Regions from separate parts of the Homo sapiens genome. Here all the other regions are linked to region 1. Evidence: promoter capture Hi-C in 16 types of primary human blood cells and fetal thymus (Javierre and others, 2016). All regions are on one chromosome and are shown on one strand. Each heading gives the region's core, a stretch centred on a gene start or on the middle of the fragment in contact. The rest is flanking DNA. Distances are from core to core; before and after follow the strand shown. Region 1 holds the start of SLC17A8 (solute carrier family 17 member 8). Region 2 has its middle 43 kb from the start of ANO4. Region 3 has its middle 110 kb from the start of ANO4.

The links. The method cuts DNA at HindIII sites, captures the fragments that hold promoters and counts their contacts. A CHiCAGO score of 5 or more calls a contact.
Region 2: a contact is called between a fragment that was not itself captured here and the fragment with the promoter of SLC17A8 in region 1, in 1 of 17 cell types (M1 macrophages). The highest score is 5.8, in M1 macrophages.
Region 3: a fragment that was not itself captured here is called in contact with the fragment with the promoter of SLC17A8 in region 1 in 3 of 17 cell types (M2 macrophages, M1 macrophages and M0 macrophages); the score reaches 6.0 in M2 macrophages.

What each region holds. Positions count from the first base shown.
Region 1 is chr12:100,355,220-100,358,740 of GRCh38, reverse strand. It overlaps SLC17A8 (solute carrier family 17 member 8), which reads right to left and starts at 1,667. Exons shown (of 12, transcript NM_139319.3): 1 at 1,249-1,667. The coding sequence starts at 1,349. RefSeq lists enhancers at 1,216-1,716, 1,717-2,217. The HindIII fragment of the contact is 7,240 bases long and covers 157-3,521 here.
Region 2 is chr12:100,750,129-100,753,649 of GRCh38, reverse strand. It overlaps a transcript of ANO4 not described here. Among named protein-coding and RNA genes, the nearest start is that of ANO4, 43 kb to the left of the region's middle. The HindIII fragment of the contact is 2,678 bases long and covers 509-3,186 here.
Region 3 is chr12:100,685,670-100,689,190 of GRCh38, reverse strand. No RefSeq gene overlaps it. Among named protein-coding and RNA genes, the nearest start is that of ANO4, 110 kb to the left of the region's middle. The HindIII fragment of the contact is 938 bases long and covers 1,205-2,142 here.

The DNA of each region.
Region 1 (3,521 bases), core at 418-2,917:
CAATAAGACGTTACCTGGGGAGTGCTCAACGGAAGGATAAAACACTCTGAAAAAAATGTTATTGTAATTTTTTCTATATTTGGCTGGTTTATGCTGCTGTCACTGAGCTAGGTTTTCATCTAGACATGCTAATTCAGTGTAGGTCTGATTGAAGCTTTTTTGTTTCTAATTACTAAAATAATAAGGTGTCCAACTCTTTTTTCTTATTAGGAAAGTTAATATTAACAGTGATACCATGGAAAATTTAACACTGACAGGAGCATATGTGTTTTAAAACACAAGAAATGGGATGAATCTCAGATTGCCTGGAAATAGTCATTTAAATGAAAAAGTTTTTAAATTTAAGAGATAATAGAAAAGTTAAAAGGACACACCAGATGGCATTTTCACTCACCAGGATTAGAAATAATCATCCAAACAAATAAAAAGTGTATCAAAGTTATTTTTCACATTTATTTATATCAGAGAGATAAAGCAGTCATTTTACCTTGCACATAAGGACCACTTATGAAATCATTTATATAATTTGAGAAGGCATTTACTATGTCTATAAAAATTCATAAATTAAACTGTCACATTAATTCAATCATTTATAGCAAACTCTCCTTCCATTAATATATTTTACTTTAAAAAATATTTACTTTTTGGTTTGGACTAAAATCTCATTCAATTCAGTGATAGTACTTAACATTTTCCCACTGCAATTATGTGAGATTTTCTGCTTCAAAGACATTTTTTAAGTTACTTCCTTCAAATTAATGTGTAACTATCCTTCTCTTTGCAAACTATACAATCAGGAACCACTTTATGTATTTTATTAAATAAGCTAAAAATTGCAAATATTTAATTTTCATTTATAGTGGATTCAGTGAAAAACATAAAAATTATTTCAGTTCAAGGCATATTTGTCATTACTAATGAGTTAACATAAAATATTATCTCCCTAAATATTTTCTAATTCAATGCCAAACATACCATATGCAATATCATCATCTCCAGAAAGTGCTAATCCAGCTATATAAACAGCATATTTGTCTTGATCTTTTCCTAATACAACCCAATACTATTCATGCATCTGTTTTTCCTCCAGGCATAGACTACTGGAGCTAGAAGGGGCTCCAGAAGGATCTAATCTGACCCATCCTCTCCTCATTAAAGTGTGGTTTTAAAAACGTGATACCAAGTCTCTCACACATTGGCAATACGAAGCTACTCAGAAAGGAACTAAAGTTCGCATTCAAACTTTACCTTTGTAAAATTCCCAAAGAATCTCCCACGGCGTTCTTCACTCCTTCCTTCCCAGGTTTCAGAATTTTTTCTTTGAAGGTATCAAATGCTTTAAAAGGCATTTTGAATGAGGGGCACCTCTGAGCCGTTAACAGTCAGTCTCAAAAACTGTCATCCTTCCTCATTTCCAGTGTGAGAACCACCTTGTTTCCCTTGGTGAACACCTGGAAGTCAGTTCTCGTGGAGGGAACTACTCAAAATCAAAAAGGAGATGAAACCCAGCTCGGATCTTCCAAGATAAGACAACTCCCTCCTCTCTCTGCTCCCCACCCCTCCAAAAAAGAGTCCAAGGGGTGTCTGGCTGGGAATTCAGTCCCTTGCAAAAGCTGCACGCTCTGCAGCAGCCTGTGGCAGCTGTCTCAGGCAGCCACTCTCAGACTGAGCGCAGCCTCTCTCCCTCCCTGGGCTGCAGCTGGGGACGCTAACATGAGCTCCGGACCACCAGGAGTCCTGAGACCAGCAGCAGTATCCGTGGCCTAGCTCCAGCCCCTCCAGCCAGCCGCGTCCCCCTCCTGCCCCACCCCAGCTCGCCTGCCGCTCTCACCAAGTGAGACTTTCCAAGGTGATGCTATAGTAACCGGCACAATACCTGCCCCTCAGCCGCCTGGGCTTATGAATGGGCTCTCAGCCAGAGCAGGCACCCAGAGAGAAATTTATGAAACATTTACAGCCCTTTGCTTTTCTGAGGTCTGGCCCTGCAGACAGGCTCACAGCCACCACTCCATGCCTTTTATTCCCCTCATGAGAGTCATGAAGCCGTTTTTCAGCCAGCCACTAGCATGGATGTGGTCCCACGAGGAACTTGCATTTGAGTAGCCCAAATGCAAAACCCAGGCCACATACATCCAGGAGGACATTTATTTGCTCCTAATCAACAGAGCAGGCTCTCTCAAAGTATGATACGTAGATGCCATTTGGGACCATCTAATTGAAGATTTCTGAGCCGGAAGATATCTAGAACCTGCTTAGAACTCTCCACTGACTCCTCATTGTCCTCAGGATAAATAAAATTATTTTTGTTTTTTCCCCTTTTCTCCCTCTAGATGGACTTTTTTTTTTTTACTTTAAGTTCCAGGATACATGTGCAGAACATGCAGGTTTGTTACATAGGTATACATGTGCCATGGTGGTTTGCTGCACCTATCAACCCATCATCTAGGTTTTAAGCCCCACATGCATTAGGTATTTGTCCTAATGCTCTCCCTCTCCTTGCCCCCCAACCCCTGACCAGCTCCGGTGTGTGATGTTCCCCTCTCTGTATCCATGTATTCTAATCATTCTACTACAAAGACACATCCACACGTATGTTTATTGCAGCACTATTTACAATACAATTCTTTATCATGGCACACAAGGCCTTTCCCTGGGACCCTAAGTCTTTCTTCTTGTCACTCTGCTTTCCACATCCTCATTTCACTGAACTCAGCAAGCTCCCTATTGCCTCTGGGCTTTACTCAAGCTATGCCCTCTGCCTGGGTAACTCTCTGCACCCCTTCAACTGGGTAACTTCTAGGGGTTCTAAGGTCATGCTAAGATATCAATCCTCTAGAAAACTGCATGGGCAAGGTGAGATGTCCCTCCTCTGTGCCTCCAAATCACCTGTCCTCTGCCCTAGCAGAGCCTGGCAGGGAGTGGGCGTTACCTAAATACTTGTTGAACTGGGGCTGAAACGCTGCAAGTTGTGGCCACATTTATGGGCAGCAGGATGACGCCTCTGTAAATGCTGCTGCGGTGGAAAAAAAACTCTTCATCTTTGAGGCTCCTGTGTTCCAATCCTCCAGTCTGCATGCGACTGACAAATCATAGGCTATAGGCTCTCAGGCTCCCCAGGAGTCATTTCCACAAGACCAGTCAATATCCTCTGCAAGCCACTGTCCAAATTATCCAAAATTTGAATTAAGTTCAACTAAGTCCGTGCTGAATCCTTGGTAGGCTAAATATTGCTAATATCTTTTGAGTTCTTTCTAGGGTCCTGGCTCTGTGTTAAGCACTCTTTAAGTATCACCACAATCTTCCCAGCAAGACTCTGTGGTAAATAACTTCTTATTTTCCCCAATTTTACTGGCAGGAAACTCAGACAAAAAGAGGTTAAACTTACCTGAGATCATACAGCTAGTAAGTAGCAGAGCCAGGTTTCAGATCCAAACAGCCTGGCTCCAACCTTTTCTCTCTCTCTCTCTCTTTGTCTCTCTCTCTCTCTTGCTCTCTCTCTCTGTCTCCCCCTCCCTCCCTCC
Region 2 (3,521 bases), core at 598-3,097, 390 kb before region 1:
GGGTTATGGCTTAATATAAATTTTGCCTGTAGCTAGGGTGCAGGTAGGCCCAGGCACATCTCAGATATTGGCAGAGCAGGCTGCCTGCAAGTGTCTGCCTTCCTAAAGTGATGTACACTGAGGAAGAGAGGGCCTTTATAGGCAACTTCAGGTTGGAATAGGTAAAAGGAGGACAATCTACCCAGGGTATGAGGAGGACAGCATGATGTCTCTTTCAGATAAATATTCCTGGCCCAGCCTAAAGGACTCAGATCTGAGCCCACTTGAAAAATAAAATGGCCTCTTTGGGGTGAAAGAGATCATGTACGTGAGATAGAGAGGCTGTGATAGATTGTGTCTTTGGCCCCAATTATTCACAGTTCCCTAATTCCACAGCCTTTCATCATGTGGCTTAGCAGTGTTGTTCCACTGAGAATAAGACATTCTGCCCCATCTTTAATTTTGGGCTCATCCATGTGGCATGGCTTTGGCTGATGAACTATTAGCAAATACGCTGCCATCAGAAGCTTGGAGTGCTTGCATGATTGGACTGGCCCCTTCTCTGGCACTTCCACCACTGTCATGAGAATGTGCCAGGAAGCACATTCCTGTGCCTACTGGAAGAGGAGAGACTTATGGAGCACAGCTGAGTCATCCCAATTGCTCCCATTGAGGACAACCTAGATCAGCCAAGAGCCAGCCAACTCCAAGATACTGAGTGAGCCCAGCCAAGATCAGCAGAGCTCTGGCCAAGTCCCAGCTGATTCTAGATAAACGAGTAAATGCTTAATCCTGTATGCCACTGAGGTTTTGGGGTTGTTTGTTATTCAGTATTATCATAATAATGGTTAATGGATATAGATCCTTTGCCACAGTTCTTCACTGACTCCAGAGATGTCAGAACTGCAGGGAATACAGAGCCCTTTTGAGGGATCACATCTTTGCCAACTCTGGGAGACAGTCTCATTGCCATAGGCACCATAGATGTTTTGAAATGAACATTAATAATCAGTCTCAAAGAGAAATAATTTCCTTGTACAACAGACCTCACACACACACACATTAAAAAAAGATTGCGTGACCCCTATAAGGTTTCCAAAGGATTTCAGGTATTATATTATCTAAATCAATCTTGTTCAAATTATGAGTTGCAATTCCTTCGTAAGCAGTGACATCTGTTTAATGGATCTTGACTTGTTGTTTTTGGGGAACAGAATGGAATGGAATGAAAAATATCAGAGTATGTAATAAATAATAAGAATTATTTCCTTAAATTTTTTTTCAGGTTTGTGTGTGTGTAAGAGGGAGAGGGAGGAAGGAAGGGATGGAGAAGTAGTAGTAGTAGTAGGTCACAATACATAAATATTTCTTACTTTAGGTATTGTTCAAAAATGTTGAAAGCCATAGGCTAAAAGAAGGTAACTACATAGCATTTTACTATTAACTAAACCTCAGCATCGAAGCCCAGCACAGGAAATATGAGAAGGAGACAGTTAAGAGAAGGGAGAGAAGGAATCCATGGGCTAGAATAATTAATAGGAAAAGTAGCTTTCGCTAACATTTTAGGATTTGAAAAACACTTTGCCTATTTTATCTCATTTGAGTCTTATAACTGCACCATTTTACAGATGAAGAAATTGAGGCTCAAAGAAGTTAAGTCTTTAGTGTGAAGGTAACATGATAAGTCACAAAGCTGAGAAGACAAGCCAGGTCTTTGTCTCCTATTCCACATTCCAACTATATCTTCACCAGCTCCAACACATCCTTGAGATCTCTCTCAAATTACTACCACATCCTCAGTCTTTCCCCATCTTCAAAATCCAAATTAAATGCCCTCTTTATACACCCCCTAATAGTGTCCTTTGCCTTCACTGAGCTAATGAAATTTCCTTATTTGGGTGATTATTTCATATCTCTCTCTTCTACTAGCCTATCCCACTGCCATTCCATAAGAAAGGAGCCTTGTCTGCTTGGGTCACTCCAGTACACCCAGCACCTAATGTAGTACTGGGCACAAAGTAGGCACTCAATAAATAGCTGCTGAATAAATGAATATGAGTTACACGACCTGGGACAAGGAAAGTGAGCCAACTCTTCCATTCTCCAATTACAACCACAAATCAGTTGTATCCTTATTTGCCTGAAAAAGACAAAAACTGCATAGTTTCCAAAATATATACCCACATAACCAGGAGGAATAGTGACCAGAGGGTGTTTCCCAATCTGTTAGGTGCCTCTTTGCTGGAGAGAACTACAAACTGAACCAGAATCCAGATACTCAGCAGTTCCTGGGGGTTGGAAAACCTGCTCAGATTCTGGGCCTTTTTCTTAGGTCAGCAGAGATTTTCCATGCTTGCGGTCAAACTGAGAATTCCACCATTCTCTCCCACTTGCTTTCCCGCGTAGATCTTTCTAAACACTTCACTTCCATCAGCTGATGTCATGGATGCTGTGGGCCCCATGGTACACCCCCAGCTGCTGATGGCTCTCGGCTGAATCTTTCTTGGGAAACTGCCCGCAAAGAGAATTCCCCAGGGTCACATTCATTCCTCGTGGCAGCTTGCATCCAGGCAATGATGGCAGGTTACAATAGCTTTGTTGTGGGACAATGTTGAAGGACTGTCCCAGCTCCAGGTATCCCTCTGTGAGGGCTGAGGCCATGTTTGTGCATCATCACAGCTCATATCTTCCCTCTGCCTGGTTATGCTTCCCTCCATCTACCACACACACACACCATACATACGGATCCCAACTGCTCTCCCCAGGAAACTTCTTGCATGCACATCTCTGGCTCAAAATCTATTTCCCAGAGAACCAGAACTAAGACAGCTAAGCTCCCTCTTGAGTCAGTACCATGGTTGCTGGGATTTTCATTTGGTTTTTAATATCAAAACAATGTCTGTGGAAACGTTTGGACACTTATATATCACAGACAAATAATATTCCTGTAACAGGGCATAAGCAGACTTCCCACTTATAACTGGTGGTAAAGAAAATTTTCTTTATAGAGTACTGTTTTGGGAACTCAGAGGCGTGTTTTGATAAAAACAGTATTGCCAAGAATCTTTAAGAAGAGGATTATTCCTATCCTTCAAAGCATCTGCCTGTTAGTGACCACAAATTATTTGGTATAATATTTTTTGTTACCTGTGTCTTGTACTGAATCCCAAGCTCCATGACTGACAGCATGGGCATCACTTGGAAGCTTGTTAGAAATGCAGAATCTAGGCCAGGTGTGGTGGCTCACGCATGTAATCCTAGCACTTTGAGAAGCCGAGGCAGGTGGATAACTTGAGGTCAGGAGTTCAAGACTAGCCTGGCCAACATGACGAAACCCTGTCTCTACTAAAAATACAAAAAAAAAAAAAAAAATTAGCCAGGTGTGTTGGTGCATGCCTGTTATTCCAGCTACTTGGGACGCTGAGGCACAAGTGCTTGAATCCAGGAGGCAGAAGTTGCAGTGAGCCAAGATCATGCCACTGCACTACAGCCTGGATGATGGAGTGAGACTGTCTAAAAAGAAAAAGAAAAAGAAAAAAGAA
Region 3 (3,521 bases), core at 424-2,923, 330 kb before region 1:
AGGAGTTTATGAACCCTTAGAAGCTTGTCCGTGAACTAAGAGGTGAATATTACACCTTCATCCCCCAATACTTGCATGTAAGACATCTACAGCTCTGCCCTTGGAGCAGCACAGTGCTACTACAAGGAAAAAACAAAAGAATCTCCACAGAGTGTGTGTTTTGCAAACAAATTCAAAGAAAAGTGAGCTGGATCAAAAACACTAGGACCTTGGAACTGATTCTCTTAGGGAGCAGAGACATGTGAAGGAGAGCAGAAAGCAAGGTAAAAATGTCCTGCTTACATAATGCAGACAGACAGGATTAGGCCTCAGGTGAGATCAAATTCTGGGCTGGGGCTGATGGTCCTATATTGCTAACATGGAGAACCTTGACTCTCAGCCTCTCACAGGGTCCTCTAGATTGAGTATCTGTATTCAACAAATCTGAAGAGCTTCTTTAGCTCAAGAATGTTTGTAGTCAACAAGATGACTCATTGAGAGAAACTGAACCTAATATGTCAGGAGAACTATTTATAGTTCTGGCACACACCCACCATCCGCACTTTACAAAGGATGCACAGTGGGTTCCATTAAGAGTTTCTACCCTTCTTCCTAAGGATGTGGTAAGAGAGCTTTCTCAAGGCAGGTTTTGTCCATATCCTCATCTGTGCATCCCACATTGCCCTCGTCACCACAGACCCCTTTTTAAATGTCTTAATTGTTCCTCCAGCACTTGCTCAAATTACAGCTCTCATTGAATTGGGTCTTTATCCATTGATTCCCGTAGGAAGCACTGAGTTCCTTAAACGTGCCTGTAAAGTGTTGACCGTGGATTTGTGACAACAGCACTTTCTCTTTATGCTCCAGCCCTAATTCTCTTGGCAAAATGGTATTTCCTCAGCTCCAGTGATGGCATTCTCTGCATTTTGTCAGCAGGAGGAGCATTTTAAACTCTCTTTGGCCAGAAGAGTTATTTGCTACTTGTGGTCTCTCCAAAAATGGATCGCCCATTAAAAAGGAACAGGAAAGTGATGGCACTTCCTATGTAGCTCCATTAAGTTTCCTCAGAAGCCATTGGTCAAGCTGTTACTCTTTAATCACTTCATGACCAACATCATGTGGGTGCACTAGGTGTTCTGCTAGCTCTGACATGGTGTCATCCTAGGTGGAGCCAAACCCATAAAATCTGAGTGATAGGAAAGACAGTCCGAGACATCCTGAAGCTTGCCTGGAATGTCTCTTAGGCTCAGCCAAGTATATTTCACAGGTGTCCTGGAGCTAGCTCATATAATCTCACAAGAAGAGATTGCTAAATTTTCAGGAGTTTTGCAAGCCTATTGCTGAATTGTTGGTTGCTTAAAATCAGCCTGGTGGAAATATTTACATTGAGGAAATCAGCAAACACTAAAATTCAGAGCTTTTCCTCCCAACCCCTGCCAGCTAAATATTCACCAGCATACTATTATTAGTAATGGGATCTTAGTGCACTATAGCATGGTGATTACACACATGATTTTACAGGTTGATTTGAACTAAAGTCCTAGCTGTACGCTTATTATATTACTCAATTTTAGTTTCCAAAAGTAAAAGTGATATTTAAAAAAATAAATTTTACCAGTCATATTAAATTAGAGAAAAAATTCCTATTACTGGATAACTGATTTCCCATTCCTCATGTTTCCATTTGTGGAACTTCCATTAGGGTAGAACTCAGGGATTTTCTGTGATTCCCAAAGAAGAAGGAGTGACTTACATGATTGATGAATTTAGAAGAGCTCAGCATGGGCAACTGCCATCCCAGCACATGGCATCACACCTCATGGCCCAAGATAATTGCTTGAGCATCCCTGTCATGTATACAGGACAACCAGCAGGAAGGAGGAAGGCACAAAGAAGTGCATGCCACTTTTCTTTAAGTACACTTCCCAAACATTACACATGACACTTGTGTTTCTAACCCACTGGCCAGAACTTAAGCATATGGCCACTCAAACTGAAAGGGAAGCTGGAAATGTTTTTATTCTAGCAAGCCACATGCCCAACTAAAAACCGGAATTTCTTTTAATATCAAAGAAATGCATTGAATAATGGAAAATGGGGGAAATTAATAATCTCTGCCACATCATGTAAATATTAGACACAGAGCTTTGCTCATAGTAAGCTTTCAGTGACTATCACCCATAGTTATTTTCTTATCAAAAGCATCCAAGTTACTCTGTACCTATATGCCTATAATTATATGGAATGTTCAAAGCCAAAATCTTCCTTTGACTAAAGATTTTTGTTACTATTTTCTAGAGCCTGGTGTTTAAAATTCAAACACCCCTTAGAAGGGCCAGTACACTGAAAGAGAGAAGTGTTTAATGTATTAGCATTTCATATGGTTTGGCTATGTCCCCACTCAAATCTCATCTTGAATTATAGTTCCCATAACCCCCATGTGTCATGGGAGGGACCTGGTGAGAGGTAATTGAATCATGGGGTGATTACCCCTTTGCTGTTCTTGTGATAGTGAGTGAGTTCTCATGAGATCTGATCGTTTTATAAGGGGTTTTCTCCCTTTTCGTGGCACTTCTCTCTCCTGCCGCCATGTGAAGAAGGACATATTTGCTTCCCCTTCCACCAGGATTGTAAGTTTCCTGAGGCCTCCCCAGACATGCAGAACTGTGAATCAATGAAACCTCTTTCCTTTATAAATTACCCAGTCTCAGGCAATTCTTGATATCAGCATGGGAACAGACTAGTACAGTAAACTGATACTGCAGAGAGTGTGGTGCTGCTATGAGGATACCTGAAAATGTGGAAGCAGCTTTGGAACTGGGTAACAGACAGAGGTTGGAACAGTTTGGAGGGCTCAGAAGAAGACAGAAAAAATGTGAAAAATTTTGGAACTTCCTAGAGACTTGGAGGGCTCAGAAGACAGAAAGATGTGGGAAAGTTTGGAACTTCCTAGAGACTTGTTGAATGGCTTTGATCAAATTGCTGATAGTGATATGGACAATGAAGTCCAGGCTGATGTGGTCTCAGATGGAGATGAGGAACTTGCAGGGAATGGGAATAAAGGTCATTCTTGCTTTAGCAAAGAGACTGGCAGCATTTTGCCCCTGCCCTAGAGATCTGTGGAACTTTGAACTTGAGATAATTTAAGGTATCTAGTGGAAGAAATTTCTAAGCGGAAAAGTGTTGAAGAGGAAGCAGAGCATAAAGGTTTGGGAAATTCACAGCCTGACAATGCAATAAAAAAGAAACCCATTTTCTGGGAAGAAATTCAAGCCTGCTGCAGAAATTTGCATAAGTAACAAGGAGTCAAATGTTAATAACCAAGACAATGGGGAAAATGTCCCCAGGGCATGTCAGAGACCTTGGCAGAAGCCCCTCCCATCACAGGCCAGGAGGCCTAGAAGGGAAAAATGGGTTTTGTGGGCCAGCCTGAGGGCCCCCCTGTTCTGTGCAGCCTCGGGACATGGTGCCCTGCATCTAAGCTGCTTTGGATTCAGCCATAGCTAAAAGGGGCCAAGGTACAGCTCAGGGTGTAAACCCCA